Regions from separate parts of the Homo sapiens genome. Here regions 1, 3, 4, 5, 6 and 7 are each linked to region 2. The links are contacts of gene promoters, found by promoter capture Hi-C in human tissues and cell types (Jung and others, 2019). All regions are on one chromosome and are shown on one strand. Each heading gives the region's core, a stretch centred on a gene start or on the middle of the fragment in contact. The rest is flanking DNA. Distances are from core to core; before and after follow the strand shown.

Region 1 (3,077 bases), core at 48-2,547, 240 kb before region 2:
GTATTTTCAGTAGAGACGGGGTTTCGCCATGTTGGCCAGGCTGGTCTCGAACGCCTGACCTCAAGTGATCCACCGCGCCCGGCCTTTCTCAGTCATTTCTAATCCCGGTGTCCAGATCCAACCCTCCGTAGTCCTATGGTTGGCCTGTGCTAGCTGAAGGGTCATTGGGTCACAAGATGAAATGCTAACATCATTGGTCCACCCACAGCAACCACACCATTCCATGTGTCTGGTCCCAACAGCTGTGTTTTCTTCTTAGAGGAGGCAATGAGGGCCATTATCAATCAGCCAGCATTGCACAGATGCCTGCTGTCCCCACCTGTAACCACCAGGTGTGTGCTGAAGTCTCTTAGAGAAGGGGAGGTGGGAACTGGCAAATGGTCAGATGGCAAGACCTGGTGCTGGTGGGGAGACTATCCCAAGACAGGGTTACTGAAGATCCCAAAAGGTACACGTATATTTGGCTACTAGGAAGGAGACGATGTTCACACTGAAGGGAGAACCAGGGGAACAGGGGAGTTGTGAAGCACACACAGGAAGTAATGAGGTAAATAAAGTATAAAAAACAGGGCCATTCTGGCAAGAGGCAAGACAAGGCAATACAGGAGGTTGGACAAGAGCCTGGGCTTCATAGTTACACAGACGTGAGTTCAAGTACTAACTGCCACTTCCTGGCTGTTTATCCTTAGACAAGTTACTTAACCTCTCTGAGCCTTTGTTTGCTCAAGTTGTTTGTGAGGTTTAAAAGATAATACAGGCCGGGTGCAGTGGCTCATGCCTGTAATCGCAGCACTTGGGGAGGCTGAGGCAGTGGATCACCTGCGGTCAGGAGTCCGAGATCAGCCCGGCCAACATGGTGAAACCCCATCTCTACTAAAAATACAAAAATTAGCTGGGTTAGTAGCGGGCTCCTGTAATTCCAGCTACTCAAGAGGCTGAGGCAGGAGAATCTATTGAACCCAGGAAGTGGAGGTTACAGTGAGCTCAGATCGTTCTATTGCAATCCAGCCTGGGTGACAGAGCAAGACTCTGTTGCAAAAAAAAAAAAAAAGATAAGACAAGCCTGGGCAACATAGTGAGACTGTGTCTGTCAAAAACAAACAAACAAACAAAAAAGCTGGGCATGGTGGTGCAACACACCTATGGTCCGAGCTAACTAGGAGGCTGAGGTAGGAGGATTGCTTGAGCCGGGGAAGTCAGAGCTGCAGTGAGCCATGAGCACGCCACTGCACTCTAGCCAGGGTGACAGAGTGATATCGTGACTCAAAAAGAAAAAAAAAGACAGAGGGAATACATATCAAATACTTAGCGAGATGCCTGGGCCCAGTAGGTGCTCGATAATTGAGCAGCTGGCATTTTTTTTTCCTCTTATCTCCACTCTCTTCAGAGGTGGGAGGGGCACTGCCTAACATGGCTGAGCTGTTTGGAAGCCAGTCTGAGAGGCAAGGTGGGAAGCATGGGGCTGGCACATAGCCTAGGGCCAAGGGGAGAGGCCCTGGAATGCTTACCTGGCTGTTGAAGCTGCAAAAAAAATTTTTTTTAAATTTGTCCAGGCTGGAGTTTGCAGTGGCGTCATCATGGCTTGCAGCAGGCTCAGTCTCTTGAGCTCAAGCGGGAAGCTGGCTAATTTTTAAAAATTGTTTTGTAAAGATGAGGTCTTGCTATATTGTTGGTCTCAAACTCCTGGCCTCAAGTGATCCTCCCACCTTGGCCTCCCAAAGCACTGGGATTACAGGCACGAGCCACCACTCAGGGCCTGAAATATTTTATTCAGAACTAAGGTGCTAGATCCAGGCTACTGGGCTGGCCAAGCAGGGGAGGAAAGACCTTGCCTCTCTTCAGCAATCCCTCTCCCTATTCTTCAGAAAGACTCCGGACCTAACCATAGGTATGCATGCATTACTCCAGTAATCTAGAGAGGCTCCAAGGTCCCGGGCTTCGGAACAAGCGGGCCACTAATAAATGTATCAGAAATACAGTCACAATTGCCTTGTCCATGAGGTCCCTTCACAGTGGGGTACGGGCGGTGGCTCTGCCTTTGCTAGTGGGATCGTTGAGGGTTTGAGGAGGCCCTGCAAACCCTGCAACGTAACTTTCTTTCTTTTTTTCTGAGATGGAGTCTGGCTCTGTCACCCCAGGCTGCGGTGCAGTGGCGAGATATCAGCTCACTGCAACCTCCACCTCTTGGGTTCAAGAGATTCTTCCTAAGTAGCTGGGGCTACAGGCACGTGCCACCACACCCAGCTAAGTTTTGTATATTTAGTAGGGATGGGGTTTCACCATATTGGCCAGGCTGGTCTCTAATTCCTTACCTCAAGTGATCCACCTGTCTCGGCCTCCCAAAGTGCTGGGATTACAGGCGTGAGCCACTTTGCTTGGCCAACAGTATCTTATTTTATTCTAAGATGGGGTCTTGCTTTGTTGCCCGGGCTGCTCTTGGCTACTCCGAACTCCTGGCCTCAAGGAATCCCACTGCCTTAGCCTCCCAAAGTGCTGGGATTATAGGTGTTAGCCACCGTGTCCAGCCTGGTATCTTTCTTAAATAAGACCCAGCTGGATCCTTGCCTCATGTCTCCCAATATGAAAGTAGTGATGAGAAGATCCCCAATATGGTATTTTCTACCCACCTGAATTTCCTGAGCTTAGATGTTCCAAACAAAGCCAGATAGGAGTCTGGTCTTCCATGGGCAGAGTAAGCTTGCTCTTCTTGAACTGTTCCTTCATGGACAGAAACTATTCTTTTCTAGAGCTCTCGGCTCCGGCTGTACCAGAAAGGTACATTCTCAGCGGCAAAAGCGTCACAGAGAGCAAGCTATAGGCAGCAGTAGCTCGGGCTTCAGTCCAATTCTGCTTCCCCTGCAGAGTGCTCTTAGAGCAGCCACCCACATTGGCAGGGGTTAAGGACGGATATTGGCACTGCCAACACAAGCCTTTCAGGTCTGGCTGGCTTCAGCTGATCTGAAACCTGGAACACAGGCGCTGGGGCCCTCACTTACTGAACCAGCAGGGGAGGCTGCAGGCTCAGCCCCTGGGGATGAAAGTCCTCCCGTCTGTCTCAGTCTGCAAATATCCACACA
Region 2 (2,829 bases), core at 157-2,656:
AAACTTCATATCCTTGTTTCTCTGGGCAAAGGACAGCCAAAAACAAAAAGACACCCTGAGTGATAATCTGTAAACAATGGATCAAGTTTAATCCATATGTGTACATCCCACCACCAGCTGAATATGATCCATCAGTTGTATTCCTGTATCAAATACCAGGCATAGTGCCTGACAAATTAAAGGTGCACAATAAATGCTAACTCACTTACTATAGGTCGGAAGGCCCTGAGCAAAGAGGCAGGAAAGACAGTAATCACCGGTGCTGTCCCAGCCTTCTAGTGGATCAAGGAGGAACAGGATGGTATCAGCTACTTTAGCCATGTCTAACACAACGTGCAGATCCCCTGCAGATAGAAGACACAGTAAGAAGAGGTGGTTGGCACCAGCACATTATTCTAAAAAAAAAAAAAAAAAATACCACTACTCAAACATAATACAAAATATTGGTGTATACTCTAACCTGGCCTTGCTGAGGTGAAAAACCACCGATGTTTCAAGCGGGGGCACAGCAGCATAAAGTTCTGGGTGTTTCCCAATTCATTCAAGTGTACTGTTCCAGTGTCCCTATCTTGAAGCAGCTGCATGGCCTCTGGCAGGGAAATTCTGCTGTGCAGGGGCACCACCAGTACCTGATGAGGAGGGCCATCCTTGCCACCCAGCTGTCTCTTCTCTGCCAGAACCTGAAAATAGAAAGATATCCGAGAACATCTCAGTGTCTCAGTACTTCACTCCAGCATTGCATTTCCACTCCCACAGATGCTCCCCCTACCCAAAACCAGCATCTCTCTAGTAAAAGACCACAGGTATGCCAGCGGGGTGGCAGGAATTCTGACCAAAGCAAAGAATGCTAGACCTGCACGCTCGACACGTGCTCTAGGGCTATGCTCTGTCCCTGGACCCTCCTCCCGGTCTCATTTTCCACTTCGAGGCATTAGCCACCTAGAACACCAGAGAAGCCGCATTCTCCCAAATCCCGCTCCTCTCACCGCCTCCTTCTTCTGCTTTCGGAGCTGGCTGGCGCGATGCCTCTGGTCGACTCTGCTGAGTTCTTTTCTCACCTTCTTGCTTAGGGTTTTCAGTGCCAGACGGCCTGAATGGCAGATTAGAAGGGGCTGGTGTGATCGGCCCCACAAGGTCAAGAAAAGGGACTCCTCTCCGCCCACCTTAGAAAGGGCCTTTCGCGTGGAGCCCAGACGGGAGACAGAAGCTCAGTCTGGGCATGAGGAAAAAGAGTTAATAACGGCCAAATAGCCCTTATTCCTTCTACGTTATCTCCTTACCCTTGCCGTCCCGCTGTGCAGATCCCCGACCCCGATGCCGTCCGCCTTTATGAGCTTTATTCTGCTGCTTGAGCGGGCCGGGGCGGTGGGCCGCCATGCCGCAGCGCGCGTGTACGGAGTCAGCACTGCTTCCGGGCCAGGACAAGCGCTTCCGGTCCCCTCCAAGGGGGCGGGCCCTCCAGGGAGCGGGACTCCCTGCGCCCTCTCGCGAAGGTCTTTTCCAGCAGCTCGTGAGAGCGCCGTGTTAGCGGGTTCGCCAAGCCGCGCTGGGAACTTTTCCCACTTCGCAGTGTGTGGTTGGGGGCTTGAAGGCGCCGGATGTAGACTGTCGAGGCTCGGGCTGTTGGTCTAGCAGGGCTGTTTGTACCCCTTGCATTGTCATTTTTTTGCGCTATAAAGCTGCATCACGTAGAAGCATGTTGACTGGAAGGCTCCATTCGTGCCGAAAAGGCCTAAGCCCTTCCTGTCACCTAGATTCGGGCACGTTGCTCTTCCGTTTGCAACGGCATGTTCTTTATCACTCTGAGCAACCTTTCTTCTCCCTCGATTCCCTAGCGAGGCTTGGGAATCGCGTGGAAGACACTTCTCTCACCTTGCCCGGTTCCGTACCAGCTCAAGCCCGTCCCTGTTACTCCAACCTGCGCCCCGCCTCCCACGGAGCGGCCGGGAAGGACCTTGTGGGACGTGGCGACCCGGCAAGGGGGACTGGCCGCGACCCTCCGGCCGTCGGGCTCGGGCGGCTGCGCTCCCACTAATCTTCCCAGAAACTTGACAACTGCACGGCGACGGCCGGACGGGGATTCAGAGGGGTCACGGGGCCAGGCTGCACCGGCTTCGCCGTGGGCAGGCTCGGACCGCAGGGGACCCCATGCCCGAGCCCCGGCCCTTTCCGTCCCGTCGGGAGAGGGAGCAGGCAGAAGTCAGGGGAGCTTCAGCGGGACCGAGGCTCGCTCTCAGCCGCGGGGCCGCGGGCTCCAGGGCCAGCGCTCACAATGCGGCTTCGCGCCCTCCATGCGGGAGCGGGTGCGTTGCCATGACAGCGACCCCCGTGGCGCGCGCCCGGGTCTGCCGCCCCTAGGCGCGCACGGCCTCTCCCCGCCCCGATCCCCCGTCGCTGTGCGCAACCCCCCTCCGGCTGTGGGAAGGGGCCGGGCCTGCCGCCTGACGTCTGTGCGGGGCTCGGAAGATGGCTGCGGAGCCGAGCACCGGGCAGTGGCTGCGGCGGCGGCGGCGGCGGCGGGCCGGGAGCGCGGCGGGCGGGGGCTCCGCCTTGCGCGTGGGGCGCTGAGCCGAGAGGCGCGGAGGCGGCGAGGGCGCGGGGGCTCTGAGGACCGCTCGGCGCCGCCTCCTGCCACACCATGGGCAGCGCAGAGGACGCAGTCAAAGAGAAACTGCTGTGGAACGTGAAGAAGGAGGTAAAGTCGAGTCAAGAACCCCGGGGGGCTCGCGCCCTGGCCCGCGCGGCCCAGGGGGCAGAAAGGTCCGCGCCCACCCCCCGGCGCGGGCACCCGGGCCGAACCTGGGCCGGGCGGGGCGGGTCCTGGACGGG
Region 3 (2,944 bases), core at 8-2,507, 150 kb after region 2:
AAAAAAAAAAAAAAAAAAAAAAAGGCTATATCTAGATAAAGGTAGCAATGGCAGAGATAGGGAAAAGTGAAAGGAATTAGAGATATTTTGGAGAGAACATCTGTGAGATTTAGCAACGAAATGATATGTGAGCTAAGGGATGCTGTGTTTCACATGAGTCTCCCAAGGTTCTAGCTTGCTCAACAGGATAGGCGGTGCCACCCTAACTGAAGTTAGTAACTCTGGCAGAGAACCGTTTTTGAAGAGAAATATAAATCTGAGCTGCATCTGAGACATTTAAGCGGAGATGGAGCCCAGAGAAGAGGTGTGTAGAAATAAACATGTAAGTGATTTGCAAACAAACAAGTGAAGCCCTGGCACGGATAACAGCGATGAAGGAGAAAATATAAAGTGCGAAGGAAAGAGAGCTGCGGCGCAAGCTTTGAAAACTCCTTTAATAGCTGTATGCACAGTCATTACAGAGGAAGTTCCACAAGGAGACAAAGGAACACCAGAGTGGAAGAAGGAAAACCAGTTTTCCAGTGTGGTGCTGAGGAGGCCAAGGCAAGAGGGTATCCATGAAGGATAAACCAACCAGCAGAGTGACCTGCTGCTCAGAAGGCAACGGAGCCCTGAAAATCAGAGTCAGTGACATGAGGCTGCTGGAGACCTTTTAAAGAGCTGCTTTGGTAGTGGTAGAGTTAGAAACCACTGTGGAATCAGCTAAAGATTAAATGAGGGCAGAGTGTGGAAGCTCACACCTGTAATCCCAGCACTGTGGGAGGCTGAGGCGGGAGGATTGCTTGAGCCCAGGAGTTCAAGACCAGCCTGGGCAACAAAAAGAGACCCTGTCTCTACAAAAAAAAATTTTAAATTAGCCAGATGTGGTGGCAGACACCTATAATCTTAGCTACTCAGGAGGCTGAGGCAGGAGGATCACTCAGCACAGGAGGTCAAGGCTACAGTGAGCTGTGATCGCATCACTGTATTCCAGCCCAGGCAACAGAGCAAGACCCAGTCTCAAATAAAATAAAATAAATAAAATAAAATAAAAATCATGCAGTACACCTTAAATATAGACAATTTCAACTCTAAAAAATGAAAAAAACCTCAAAAGATTTGAAAACAGGACCTCAAAAAGATATCTGCACACCCATATTTACTGCAGCATTAACCCCAACAGCCAAGAGGTGAAAGCAACCTAAAGGTCCACTGACAGATTAACAGATAAAGCAAATGTGGTATATACACAAAATGGAATACTATTCTGCCTTTAAAAAGAAGGAAATCCCAGCCCGGCGCAGTGGCTCACGCCTGTAATCCCAACACTTTGGGAGGCTGAGGTGGGCAGATCACCTGAGGTCAGGAGTTTGAGACCAGCCTGGCCAATATGGTGAAACCCCATCTCTACTAGAAATACAAAAATTAGCCAGGCTTGGTGGTGGGCGCTTATGATCCCAGCTACTCGGGAGGCTGAGGCAGGAGAATCGCTTCAACCCGGGAGGCGGATAGGTTGCAGTGAGCAGAGATAGTGCCACTGCACTCCAGCCTGGGCAACAGAGCAAGACTCCGTTCCCCACCCACCAAAAAAACAAATTAAAAAAAACAAAAAAAAGGAAATCCTGTCACGTGCTAGAACATGGATAAGTCTTTGAGGATATCAAGCTAAGTGAAATAAGCGAGTCAAAAACAACAAATACTGCATGATTCTACTTTAAGGTAAAGGTATCTAAAGTAGTCTAACTCATGAAAAGGTTCTAGAAATCTGCACAACAACAAGCACAGGGTTAACACACTGTACACTTAAACTGGATTAAGATGGGACATTCTACGTTGCGTTTCTCACAACAATAAAAAAAATTAAGTGGCCTTAAATTATTATTCGCGTACTGTACTGACATCCTTCCCACTTTTCAACTCTCTGATACAGAAGACTTATTGAAGAAAATGTCCACTTTTTAAACACTCTCATGGGTCAAATAAGCAATTAGATAGTAATATACAAAAACACAGATCCTGAAACAATGGAAACAACCATTACTGATAACCCTAAGTTAACCAAAGAATCCAAAATCCTACTGGCAAAATAAAAAATTGTACCTCGATCAATCAAGCTAAACTTTTCATTCTTTTTTTTTTATTTTTTTTTATTTTTTGTAGAGAAGGGGTCTCACTATATTGACCAGGCTGATCTTGAACTCCTGGCCTCAAGCAATAGCTTCCCAAAATGTTGTGATTACAAGCATAAAGCAGCTTGAAGCCAGGCCTTCAGGCTGATCTTTTAAATGCCATTCCTATGCTAACTAAAGAGCAACTAACAGAAAAGAAAAATCTAGTCATCCAAACACCTCTTTGCCCTTTCCAGGCATAGTTAAGAATACTGTGATTTCGGCCGGGCGCAGTGGCTCACATCTGTAATCCCAGCACTTTGGTAGGCCGAGGCAGGCAGGTCACCTGACGTCAGGAGTTTGAGAGCAGCCTGGCCAACACGGTGAAACCCCGTCTCCACTAAAAGTACAAAAATTAGCCGAGCGTGGTGGCAGGCAACTGTAATCGCCATTTAATAGAGACGGTGAAATCCCGTCTCTACTAAAAATGCAAAAAAAATTAGCTGGGCGTGGTGGCACGTGCCTGTAACCCCAGCTACTAAGGAGGCTGAGGCAGGAGAATCGCTTGAACCTGAGAGGTGGAGGTTGCAGTGAGCCAAGATCACGCCACTGCACTCCAGCCTGGATGACAGAGCGAGACTCAAAAAAAAAAAAAAAAACGAATACTGCGATTTCCTAGCAATGCCCAGTGACTTACCCTAAATTCAGTGAAGCTTAAAAAGAAAGAAAAATAAGTCCAGTGATAAAAGAGGAACTGTTAAATTTAAGTTTTGTACTACAGAAAATTTAGGAACAACCTAAAAGTAATCAGTATGGAATTGGCTAAATAAGCTATAATATAACCATGCAAGAAAATC
Region 4 (2,795 bases), core at 16-2,515, 170 kb before region 2:
ATCTCTACTAAAAACACAAAAATTAGCCAGGCGTGGTGACGCGTGCCTGTAGTCCCAGCTACTCCGGAGGCTGAGGCAGGAGAATTACTTGAACCTGGGAGGCAGAGGTTACAGTGAGCCAAGACTAAACCACTGTACTCCAGCGTGGGCGACAGAGCGAGACTCCATCTCAAGGAAAAAAAAAAAAATCCTTGATGACATCTGCAAAGGTCTTTTTGTCACGTAAGGTAACATGTAACAGGTTTTAGAGATTGAAGACATAAACCTCTTTGGGGTGGGGGTGTTACTTTGCCTACCACAAAGGGTTACGACAGCTCATGAGGTAGACACAGACCACCACTTGGAAGCTTTCTCACTGCTACGAATCAGTACCATTCGCAATGCTTCAGCAGTTCAGAGAGGTCTAAGGCAAATTCCCATACTAAATGGAAAGTGGCCCAATGACAGAATTTCTTCTTCACATGGTAGCTCCAAGAAGGTGACAGGACACTGCAGTATCATTTATATGAAAGAGACTGAAAAAAAAAAAACTGAAAACTAGACATGAGCGATAGCTCTGATACAGCAGCTCCACTGTATACAGAACAGAAAATGTAGAAAATAAATTCATTTATTGACATTGCACACCACTTGGTCCCCTTCCCACTCCCTTGAGGTTAATGACTTGCTAATATAGCTTATTCTTTATCCAAAATGCCTGGGACCAGAAGTGTTTCAGATTTTGGAATATTTGCACTTTATCCTTACTGGTTGAGCATCCCTAATTGGAAAATCTGAAATCAAGCTTTGGATTTTAGAGTCTTTTGTATTTCAGATTTTTGGACTAGGGATATTCAATGTGTACAAACTCTATACTTGAGCAAGGGATTTCACCTATTATCTGTGGGTCACTCTGGGAGGCCAAGGCGGGAGGATCACTTGAGCTCAGGAGTTTGAGACCATCCTGGGCAACACAGGGAGGCCTTGCCTCTAATAAAAAAGTAAAAATAATTAGCCAGGTGAGGTGACGCTTGCCTGTAGTCCCAGCTACTCAGGAGGCTGAGGGGGGAGGATCGCTTTAACCCAGGAGGTCGAGACTGCAGTGAGCTATGATCACACCACTGCATTCCATTCTGGGTGACAGAGTGAGACACTGTCTCAAAAACACAAAGAAACAAACAAAATGGACGGGCGCGGTGACTCAGGCCTGCAATCCCAGCACTTAGGGAGGCCGAGGTGGGCGGATCACTTGATGTCAGGAGTCTGAGACCAGCCTGGCCGACATAGCAAAACCCCGTCTCTACTAAAAATACAAAAATTAACTGGGCGTGGTGGCAGGTGCCTGAAATCACAGCTACTCGGGAGGCTGAGGCAGGAGAATCACTTGAACTTGATAGGTGGAGGATGCAGTGAGCCGGGGGGTCACGCCACTGCACTCCAGCTTGGGAGACAGAGCCAGACTCCATCTCCAAAACAACAACAACAACAAAAAACTACTGTAGACAAAGAAGGTATCCAGTGAGAATCTACCTAATCTGTTCAAAGAAATGTAAGTGACCAGCATCAAATCGTAGAAACTAGAGCTGAGGTCTAAGAAAATAATCTGCAATATATTAATAAAAAGGAGAATGTAGCACGCAAATAGAGAAACAAATTATATTTTGGGGGAAAAAATGCCAAATGAAAAAGAAGGTACTATCTGCTATATTCTTTCAATTGAATTTATTTTTAAAGACAAGGTCTTGCTCTGTCCCTCGGGCTGGAGTATGGTGGCACAATCACAGCTCACTGCAGCCTAGACGGCCAGGGCTGAAGTAATTCTTCCACCTCAGCCACCTGATTAGCTGGAACTACAGGTGTAATACCATCAACCCTGGCTAATTTTTATGTTTTTTGTAGGGACAGGTTTTTGCCATGTTGCCCAAGCTGGTCTCAAACCCCTGGGCTCAAGTGATCTGTCTGCCTTGACTTCCTAAAGTGCTGGGATGACAGGCATGGGCCACTGCTCCTGACCTTCAACTGAATTCTTCAAATTATAGACTCTGTGAAGTATGCTAAATGAAAAATGAAAAAGCAAAGACAGATATAAGGGGACTGAGGCCAGGCACAGTGGCTCATGCCTGTAATCCTAGCACTCTGGGAGGCTGAGGCGGGCAGATCACCTTGAGGTCAGGAGTTCGAGACCAGCCTGGCCAATATGGCAAAACCCCGTCTCTACTAAAAATACAAAAAAATTAGCTACTTGTGGCAGCGCGTGCCCCTGTAATCCCAGCTACGCGGGGGGCTGAGGCAAGAGAATCGTTTGAACTTGGGAGGCAGAGGGGGTGCAGTGAGCCGAGATCACACCACTGCACTCCAGCCTGGGCGACAGAGTAGGACTCCATCTCAAAAAAAAAAAAAAAAAAAAAAAAAGATATAAAGGGACTGACTAAAAGGCAGGCAAAAAAAATAAAGGTTATAAGATATAATGTAAGAGAACAAATAATGCAATAGAAGACTTAAAACCTGAACTAGAAGTAGTAAAGAGTAGAATCAATGCTATAAAAATATATCAAGATGACAAACTTGAGAAACCTTCCTAGAATGCAGAAGAAAAGCAAAAACAGATTAAAGTGATGACAGAAAAAGTGACATATAGGACAAAGAATGGAGATCTAATGTATCAGGACAGCAGAAATTACTGAAGAAAAGAATAGAACAAAGAGAGTATTTGCACTCAAAGGCATATAAGGTGAAAACTTTTCTGCTTCAAAGATACAATGATTACGTTAATGCCAAATCAGTGCTCTTGAAGCACGCCTTCACCGGGGTATTAC
Region 5 (2,961 bases), core at 458-2,957, 220 kb before region 2:
TATATAAGATGGTGAATAGAAGACCCTAAGAAAGGTAATATTTGATCAGACTTGAAGGTGCAAGCCACAAAAAAGAGAGGTCCTTTCTTATCTCGCTCAAAGAGGTCCTCTGAGATCACAGGATCTCGCTGTTGCCCAGGCTGCAGTACAGTGGTGTGATCATAGCTCACTGCAGCCTCGACCTCCTGGGCTCAAGCGATCCTTCTACCTCAGCCTCCCAAGTAGCTGGGACCACAGGCGCCTGCCACCACGCCTGGCTAATTTTTTATAGAAACGGGGTCTCCCTATATTGCCCAGACTGGCCTTGAACTCCTAGGTTCAAGGGATCCTCCGGCCTTGGCCTCTTAAAGTGCTGGGATTACAGGCATGAGCTACTGTGCCTGGCCCGAAAGGTCCTTAGAGCGGGTTTCTTGGGTGGTGGCTGGAGCATCAAGGAGTTCCTTCTCTGATCGAAGGGCTTGTTAGCTACACAGTTTGAAGGAAGGAGAACAGGCTTTTCCAGCTCAGCCTGGTGAGAGGAGAGGCCTTTGAGAGTTTATGCAGCTTGCACACCCGCTCCATGCAGTTTCTGGAAAGTTTCCATCACAGATGAGAGTTTTACGTTGAATTTTAAGTTTGACCACAAATATTTAAACTTCCCTGGACCACAAATACAGTATCTTCCCTGTGGTTTATCTGGCAGCAAGTACATATTTACAAATCTCTATATGTCTGCCTGTTATTTAAATTTCTTACAGAAGTGCCAAGGTCTTTAGTTGTGATTTATCCCCTCCCCCTCCGTACTGGTAGGTATAGTCTTCATTAGGCCTAACTCTTGGGAAAAGGAGGTATCTTTACAATTGAAGCTTAGAAATCTTCCTGATTAAATTTCCTATTACCGCTTCCCTCTTAAAAAAAAAAAAGTCGGCCGGGCGCGGTGGCTCACGCCTGTAATCCCAGCACTTTGGGAGGCTGAGGCGGGTGGATCACGAGGTCAGGAGATCGAGACCATCATGGCTAACATGGTGAAACCCCGTCTCTACTAAAAATACAAAAAAAAAATTAGCCAGGCGTCGTGGCGGGCGTCTGGAGTCCCAGCTACTCGGGAGGCTGAGGCAGGAGAATGGCATGAACCCGGGAGGCGGAGGTTGCAGTGAGCCGAGATCGTGCCACTGCACTCCAGCCTGGGTGACTGAGCAAGACTCTGTCTCAAAAAAAATAAAATAAAAAATAAATAAATAAATAAATAAATAAATAAATAAATAAATAAATAAAAGGCAATGGTCTGTTCCAAGTTCTTGCATTTGAATTGAAATGTAAAAATTGAATTTTTTTGGTGCTTTTTTTTTTCCACTAGGGAATTGAGAACAAAACTTAAAGCTAAATAAATCTGCATACTTTAGCTATATTAAAAAGCAAAACAGCAAACAATAAAAGCCAGGTGTAATGAGCTCCAAACTTTTTTTTTTTTTTTTTTTTGAGACAGACTCTCACTCCGCCACCCAGGCTAGAGTGCAGTGGCGCAATCACAGCTCACTGCAACCTCTGCCTCCCAGGCTCAAGCAATCCCCCTGCCTCAGCCTCCTGAGTAGCTGGGACCACAGACATGCGTCACCATGCCTGACTAATTTTTGTATTTTTGGTAGAGATGGGGTTTCACCATGTTAACCAGGCTGGTCTTGACCTCCTGAGCTCAAGTGATCTACTGGCCTCAGCTTCCCAAAGTGCTGGGATTACAGGTGTGAGCCACTGTTCCCAGCCTTTTATTTTCTTTTTTAAGAGACAGAGTCTTGCTCTGTCACCCAGGCTGGAGTGCAGTGGCATGATCAAGGCTTACTGCAGCCTCCATCTCCCAGCCTCCCAGGCTCCAGTGATCCTCCCCGCGACTTCAGCCTCCTGATTAGTGAACAGCTAGCATTGCAGGCGTGTGCCACCATGCCTGGCCAATTTTTTTTTTTATTTTTTGTAGAGATAGGGCCTATTTGCCCAGATTGGACTCGAACTCCTGGGCTCAAGTGATCCACCCGCCTCGGCCTCACAGCGTGCTTGGGTAACAGGCATGAGCCACTATGCTGGGCCTAAGGCCCAATTTCTAAATGAATACTCATTTGCTTACCAATTCCTGAACATTATAACATGCACTAGGGTTACAAAGAATACAGCACACATCCCTGCTCTCCAGCTGGGTCTTGAACAAAGCCGGCTTGGGAAAGGGTGCTGGCTCCACGAGAGCACACAATTCTTAAATGGGTCTCTGGGTTATCAGGACTGCTTTCTCTTACACAGCTGCCAAGTGAGCTATATGGCATTCTTATCAAATGAAAGCAAACAGCTAGATCATCTAAAACCCATGGCCTCAAAACCATCACTCCTACTCCATTCTGGAGATCTTATTATTTTCACCTTTCCTTTCCTGGACCTTTGGGGTATGGTCCCTATTAATATCCAGCCTACAGGGTTGAGACCCAACACAGAAAGACTTAAGGAGCATCTTCATGAAATCACTAAATTATCTCCTCCTGAGTGTCACACGAGAGTGGTGGAACTAGTTATGAAGTAACAAACCCATGCATATAAACCCATGAAAGCACAATCTAAGTCCAATGCCTACCTTTATCAAATGAACAATGACCTTCCAAGTATTTCAATCTGGAAGGCTAGAAACTCATTTCTTAAAAACTAGCATTGAGGCCAGGCACGGTGGCTCACGCCTGTAATCTCAGCAGTTTGGGAGGCCGAGGCAGGCGGATCACCTGAGGTCAGGAGTTCAAGACCAGCCTGGCCAACATGGCGAAACCCCGTCTCTACTAAAAAAATACAAAAATTAGCTGGGCACGGTGGCGCATGCCTGTAATCCCAGCTACTTGGGAGGCTGAGGCAGGAGGATAGCTTGAACCCAGGAGGCAGAGGTTGCAGTGAGCCTAGATTGCGCCATTGCACTCCAGCCTGGGTGACAGAGTGGGACTCCATCCCAAAACAAAA
Region 6 (2,700 bases), core at 162-2,661, 190 kb before region 2:
GGGTTACAGGCGTAAGCCACTGCACCTGGCCTGACACTTTATTTTTTTAAATTCTTCATATCCAGGCCGGGTACGATGGCTCACACCTGTAATCCCAATACTTTGGGAGGCCAAGGTGGGTGGATCCTGAGGTCAGGAGATCAAGACCATCCTGGCTAGCATGGTGAAATCCTGTCTCTACTAAAAATGCAAAAAAATCAGCCGGGTGTGGTAGCACGCACCTGTTGTCCCAGCTACTTGGGAGGCTGAGGCAGGAGAATCGCTTGAACCTGGGAGGCGGAGGTTGCAGTGAGCCGAGATTGCACCACTGCACTCCAGCCTGGGTGACAGAGTGAGATTCCATCTCAAAAAAAAAAAAAAAAATTCTTCATATCCACATTGTATTCATTTTTATAACATGCAGTCAATGCAATATTTAGAAAGTAGTATTCAATTAAAAAAAAAAGCCATTGAAGCTGTCTTTAGGTGAAATCCATGCATGTCAGACCTTGTCTGAGCACTGCTTTTTACAGAAGCCTTGACAAACTGGAATTGCCTTTCAAGTATTAGTGCATTGGAATCACCTGGAGAGCTTGTTAAATGAGCCTGCTGGGCTCCACCCTCAACTGTTTATGATTCAAAAGGCTGAGGTAGGGCCTAAAACATTACAAGTTCCCAGGTGAATCTGATGCTGCTGGTAATGGCACAGAGAAATCTGGCCAGGAGAATGATCTAGAATTGCAGTGTTTAATACAGTAGCCACTAGCCACATGTGGATATTTCAATTTAACTACATTAAGATTTGTTTTTCGGTTGCACTAGCCACATTTCAAGTATTCAAAAGTCACATGTGGCCAGTGGCTACCATAGAGGATGGTGTGGAAATAGTAACTTTCCATCATTACAGTACTAAACACTGCATCATTACATAAAGTCCTATAATATTTCGCAGCACTGGCCAAGAATCTATTTGATTGCACTGGTTTGTTTAGCTTAGAGAAAAGAAAACGTAAAGAGAATTTCAAGTATAACTAAGGTGTGTCAGATATAGAAAAAACAGACTTTGTGATTTTGAGAAAACTTTTAAAAAATCATTAAGTGGGAATTACAGGAAGGCAGGCTGTGTTCAGTTTGAGAAGGAACTTTTTTTTCTTAGAGATGCGGTCTTGCTCTGTCACCCAGGCTGGAGTGCAGTGGCACAATCACAGCTCACTGTAACCTTGAAATCCTGGGCTCAAGTGATCCTCCTGCCTCAGCCACTTGAATGGCTAGGACCACAGGTGTGCACACCATACCCGCTAATTTTTAAAAAATTTTTTTGCAGAGGCAGGGTCTTGCTATGTTGCATGGCTGGTCTTGAACTCCTGGGCTCAAGTGCTCCTCCTACCTTGGCCTCCCAAAGTGCTGAGATGACAGGCACAAGCCACCTCACTCAGCCTGAGGAGGAACTTTTTATAGTGACTGTCTCATAATAGAGTAAATTCTGGGGAAGCATCTGGAGCAGAGGCCATTGAGAAAACTGGAGGACTATTTTTTCATTAGATAAGAGACTGGCCCTGATGTCTTCTAAGGAAGCTTTTAACTCCATGGTTCCTTTGTAATCAATCTGATCCAATTTTATAGTTACAATCACTGTTTACCATTTCTTTGGAATCTAGGATACTTTTCTGAAGTGTGTACTTCAGGTAGAAGAAACTTCGTTTAGTGAGGATATTTGGTGATAAACTCTGTTTTGTTTTTGTTTTTGGCGGGAGGACAGGATCTCACTATGGCTGGACTCCAATGCCTGGGCTCCAGTGATCCTCCTGTCTTAGCCTCCCAAGTGGCTGGGAATACAGGCGCACACCAGCTTCTCCCAGTCCTTATTGTTTAAAAATGTCTTTATAACACCAAAGCACAAGTAACAAAATAAAATAAACCAGATTAATTGGACTTCGTAAAAATTAAAACATTCAAGAAAGTGCAAGGACAATCAAATCATAGGGAGAAAATATTTGTAAATCATTTATCTGATAAAGGACTTGTATCCAGAATCTATAAAGAACTCCTGCAACTCAAGGCTGGGTGTGGTGACTCATGCCTGTAATCCCAGCACTTTGGGAGGCCAAGGCAGGAGGATCGCTGGAGCCCAGGAGTTCAAAACCAGCCTGGGCAACACAGTGAGACCCTCTCTGTCTGTCTGTCTATCTATCTATGAACTCCTACAACTCAATGTAATCTTTCTATCTATCTATCTATCTATGAACTCCTACAACTCAACAATAAAAGACAACCCAATTTTAAAAGTAGGCAAATATGGCCGGGCACAGTGGCTCACGCCTGTAATCCCAGCACTTTGGGAGGCTGAGGTGGGCGGATCACCTGAGGCCAGGAGTTCGAGACCAGCCTGACCAACATGGAGAAACCCCGTCTCTACTAAAAATAAAAAAAAAAATTAGCCAGGCGTGGTGGCGCATGCCTGTAACCCCAGCTACTCGGGAGGCTGAGGCGGGAGAATTGGTTGAACCTGGGAGGCGGAGGTTGCGGTGAGCCAAGATTGCGCCATTGCACTCCAGCCTGGGCAACAAGAGCAAAACACTGTCTCAAAAAAAAAAAAAAAAAAAAAAAAGTAGGCAAATATTTGAACAGTATTCCAAAGAAATACCAACAGCCACTGAACACATGAAAAGCTGTTCAACATCATTAGTTATTGAGAAATGCAAGTGAAAATCACAACTGAGA
Region 7 (2,743 bases), core at 77-2,576, 130 kb before region 2:
CCCTGGCTTTCCCTTCTTCTTTATATAGGACTCCAGGGCCAAGAAATGTCCTGGGGGCTCTATCAATACATCTTGGCAAGAAAGACAGCAAACCATCTACTCTCTACAAGAAAAAATGAAAACACTTCTAAATGGGTGCTTCCCTTGTTCCAGGAAATACCCATGCAGTTTCAGAAATGGTACTCCAATAGATTTCCTGGAAAATAAATAAATAAGTAAGTTGCCAGTCAAAACACACTTTGGCCATTTCCACCTTAGTTGTGTCTCTGGATTGATATTTTTGTTACTTACAGGTTACTGTCTGAGCCCAGAGTTATTCAATACACATCCCCTCTTGGGCAGGACAGAGCTGCTGCCAGCAGAATAGCATGCTGGCACTGGACGAGTCCCTTAGTAATGGGGCCCAGGAGAACGAGGGCCTGCCATTCCAGCATCTCATTTGGAAGAGTTACAAGCAGATCTTGCAGGACAGAGTTTCTGCTTCTACACTGCTTGCCAGACGTTTTGGGAAGCTTGCCTCTCTCCCAGTATTTGAGGAAAAGCAAAGGAAGAGTAGAAAAGCATGGCAGGTCTTTAATTAAACAAGACAGGTAGTCCCTATGGAATCCCATACAGCAGATATGAGGTGTCCTGTGTCAAAAGTTATTTAAGGTTGTGGAGGAGAAGTGATATGAAAGAGGCTTCCTAAGAGGCATACCCATTAGCCAATCTAGAAGGAAGTTTTCCTGTTAACAGTCAGGAGGGAGAAATATAGCTATATCACTTTTAATAAAGCAAGGAGAGATTTGGCTGCTGATTCAGACACACACCTTGAAACCCACCTCTGCTGGCGTGAAGCTTCAGGAGCACTTTGAGCCAGAAGTAAAAATTAGGGAGGGATAATGCCTGCAGACACCCTGATTCAGAGAAACTCCATTGACAGGGCAGGCAGAGGGGCAGGGAAGTGTTCTGCTTCCATTTTTACAAATTAACTCAATTTCTTTTCATTCTGTGGCTTCCTGAACGATTTTTTTTAAGAGATGGGGTCTTGCTCTGTTGCCCAGGCTGGAGTTGAGTGGCATGGTCATAGCTCACCACAGCCTTGACCTCTCAGGCTCAAGCAATCCTCCCACCTCAGCCTCTGAAGTAACTGGGACCACAGGCATGTGCCACCATGCCCAGCTAAGGATTTTTAAAAGTCTGACAGTGTTTGTAAACAACGCCAAAAATAAAACAATTCCGAGATAGGTGAGACAGAAAGGTACCTAGAATAAAAAGGACCTCTTGGAGGCCTTCTGAGAAGTTAGCTTTTTCAGGAAGCTTCCAGAATGTAAAGATTAGAGTCATCAAACAAACTTTGAGGGGTCAGTACTGAAAAATAAGACCAATGATAAGGCACAATTTTTTGGTGGTTACCTTGTGAATATCCAGATCTGCACATTCATTTGACTCTGCTCCAGAAACTCATCCCAAAATGGTTCCTCAAGGCCTCAGAATCCATGATCAATGTCCAAACCAAACTGCGAACGTAATGACTTCATCCAACCCCACCCACTGTGGTGCATCTAGTTTTAAAGTAGAGGTCAGGAGAATAATAAGCTAGATAAAGCAGTTATGCCAAGGAAGGAAGTGAGAAAGCAGCAATGAATGAAGGTGACTAGAAATGTGCTAAGGTGCCAGCTAGTCTCCTGACCTAGAAGCTGTGGAATCGACATACCTTTTAATAATAATGCTTCCAGCTGGGCATGGTGGCTCACGCCTATAATTCCAACACTTTGGGATGCGAGGTAGGCGAATCACTTAAGCTCAGGAGTTCCTGGCCAGCCTAGGCAACGTGGCAAAACCTCACCTCTATTAAAAATACAAAAATGAGCCAGACGTAGTGGCACGTGCCTATAACCCCAGCTAATCAGGAGGCTTAGGAAGGAAGATCGCTTCAGCCTGGGAGGCAAAAGTTGCAGTGAGCTGAGATCATGCCACTACACTCCAGCCTGGGCAACAGAGTAAAACTCTGCCTTAATAGTAACATAGCCCTTCCAAATTTGTACTCAGTTGCTGGACTGGTCAATTTGTCAATACACTTACCGAAACCAATATACATTGTTTGAAACCTGTATGTATCTAGTTTTTGGTTTTTTTTCTGAGACTGAGTCTCGCTTTGTCACCCAGGCTGGAGTGCAATGGCGCGATCTCAGCTCACTGCAACCTCCGCGTCCCAGGATCAAGCGATTCTCCTGCATCAGCCTCCCAAGTAGCTGGGATTACAGGTGCTCACCACCATGTCTGGCTAATTTTTGTATTTTTAGTAGAAATTGAGTTTCACCATGTTGGCCAGCCTGGTCTCGAACCCCTGACCTCAAGTGATCCGTCCATCTTGCTGGGATTACAGCAATTACTCCCAAATTGCTGGGATTACAGGCGTGAGCCACCACGCCTGGCCTGTATCTAATTTTAAACTAGATTAAAATTTTTTATATTTACTCTTTTATACCACAATTCACAAAAGATTTGTGACAACTTACAGCAAAATCACATAAAATGAGATAACATTAAAGTAGATTAGAGAATCAAGACCAAGAAAAAGGTAAAAATGTCAATCACATGGATTAACAGCCTACCATAAACGGACTTAAAATTTGACTTAAAATTTCCTGTCAGGCAAAGCAAAAGAGGAAACACCAATAACTGTATAGTTCTCATTATTAGAAAGGAATAAGTATATCAATTCTTCAGGAAAAACAACTCCTTTTTCTCAGCACTGAGT

Evidence for each region. The method cuts DNA at HindIII sites, captures the fragments that hold promoters and counts their contacts. A contact is called where the count stands out against the background at its distance.
Region 1: a fragment that was not itself captured here is called in contact with the fragment with the promoter of TSR1 in region 2 in 3 of the 25 tissues and cell types used here (IMR-90 fibroblasts, ovary and pancreas).
Region 3: a contact is called between a fragment that was not itself captured here and the fragment with the promoter of TSR1 in region 2, in 2 of the 25 tissues and cell types used here (IMR-90 fibroblasts and mesendoderm cells).
Region 4: a contact is called between a fragment that was not itself captured here and the fragment with the promoter of TSR1 in region 2, in 4 of the 25 tissues and cell types used here (adrenal gland, aorta, heart left ventricle and 1 more).
Region 5: a fragment that was not itself captured here is called in contact with the fragment with the promoter of TSR1 in region 2 in 1 of the 25 tissues and cell types used here (small bowel).
Region 6: a fragment that was not itself captured here is called in contact with the fragment with the promoter of TSR1 in region 2 in 1 of the 25 tissues and cell types used here (pancreas).
Region 7: a contact is called between a fragment that was not itself captured here and the fragment with the promoter of TSR1 in region 2, in 1 of the 25 tissues and cell types used here (pancreas).

What each region holds. Positions count from the first base shown.
Region 1 is chr17:2,092,158-2,095,234 of GRCh38, forward strand. The region is part of intron 13 of SMG6 (SMG6 nonsense mediated mRNA decay factor); the gene reads right to left. All of the region lies in intron 1 of SMG6-AS1 (SMG6 antisense RNA 1), which reads left to right. Among named protein-coding and RNA genes, the nearest start is that of SMG6-AS1, 4.0 kb to the left of the region's middle. The HindIII fragment of the contact is 3,990 bases long and covers 1-3,077 here.
Region 2 is chr17:2,335,051-2,337,879 of GRCh38, forward strand. TSR1 (TSR1 ribosome maturation factor) reads right to left here and starts at 1,407. Exons shown (of 15, transcript NM_018128.5): 1 at 1,281-1,407; 2 at 987-1,090; 3 at 461-680; 4 at 210-344. The coding sequence starts at 1,377. SGSM2 (small G protein signaling modulator 2) reads left to right here and starts at 2,451. Exons shown (of 24, transcript NM_014853.3): 1 at 2,451-2,695. The coding sequence starts at 2,639. RefSeq lists an enhancer at 1,575-1,684 and silencers at 1,915-2,044, 2,075-2,384, 2,485-2,594, 2,695-2,794, 2,825-2,829. The HindIII fragment of the contact is 7,910 bases long and covers 1-2,829 here.
Region 3 is chr17:2,487,004-2,489,947 of GRCh38, forward strand. The region is part of intron 2 of METTL16 (methyltransferase 16, RNA N6-adenosine); the gene reads right to left. Among named protein-coding and RNA genes, the nearest start is that of METTL16, 23 kb to the right of the region's middle. RefSeq lists a silencer at 2,335-2,434. The HindIII fragment of the contact is 4,023 bases long and covers 1-2,944 here.
Region 4 is chr17:2,164,766-2,167,560 of GRCh38, forward strand. The region is part of intron 13 of SMG6 (SMG6 nonsense mediated mRNA decay factor); the gene reads right to left. Among named protein-coding and RNA genes, the nearest start is that of SMG6-AS1, 76 kb to the left of the region's middle. RefSeq lists an enhancer at 930-1,224. The HindIII fragment of the contact is 7,332 bases long and covers 1-2,795 here.
Region 5 is chr17:2,111,318-2,114,278 of GRCh38, forward strand. The region is part of intron 13 of SMG6 (SMG6 nonsense mediated mRNA decay factor); the gene reads right to left. Among named protein-coding and RNA genes, the nearest start is that of SMG6-AS1, 23 kb to the left of the region's middle. The HindIII fragment of the contact is 7,204 bases long and covers 1-2,961 here.
Region 6 is chr17:2,140,326-2,143,025 of GRCh38, forward strand. The region is part of intron 13 of SMG6 (SMG6 nonsense mediated mRNA decay factor); the gene reads right to left. Among named protein-coding and RNA genes, the nearest start is that of SMG6-AS1, 52 kb to the left of the region's middle. The HindIII fragment of the contact is 3,350 bases long and covers 1-2,700 here.
Region 7 is chr17:2,202,966-2,205,708 of GRCh38, forward strand. All of the region lies in intron 10 of SMG6 (SMG6 nonsense mediated mRNA decay factor), which reads right to left. Among named protein-coding and RNA genes, the nearest start is that of SMG6, 99 kb to the right of the region's middle. The HindIII fragment of the contact is 6,435 bases long and covers 1-2,743 here.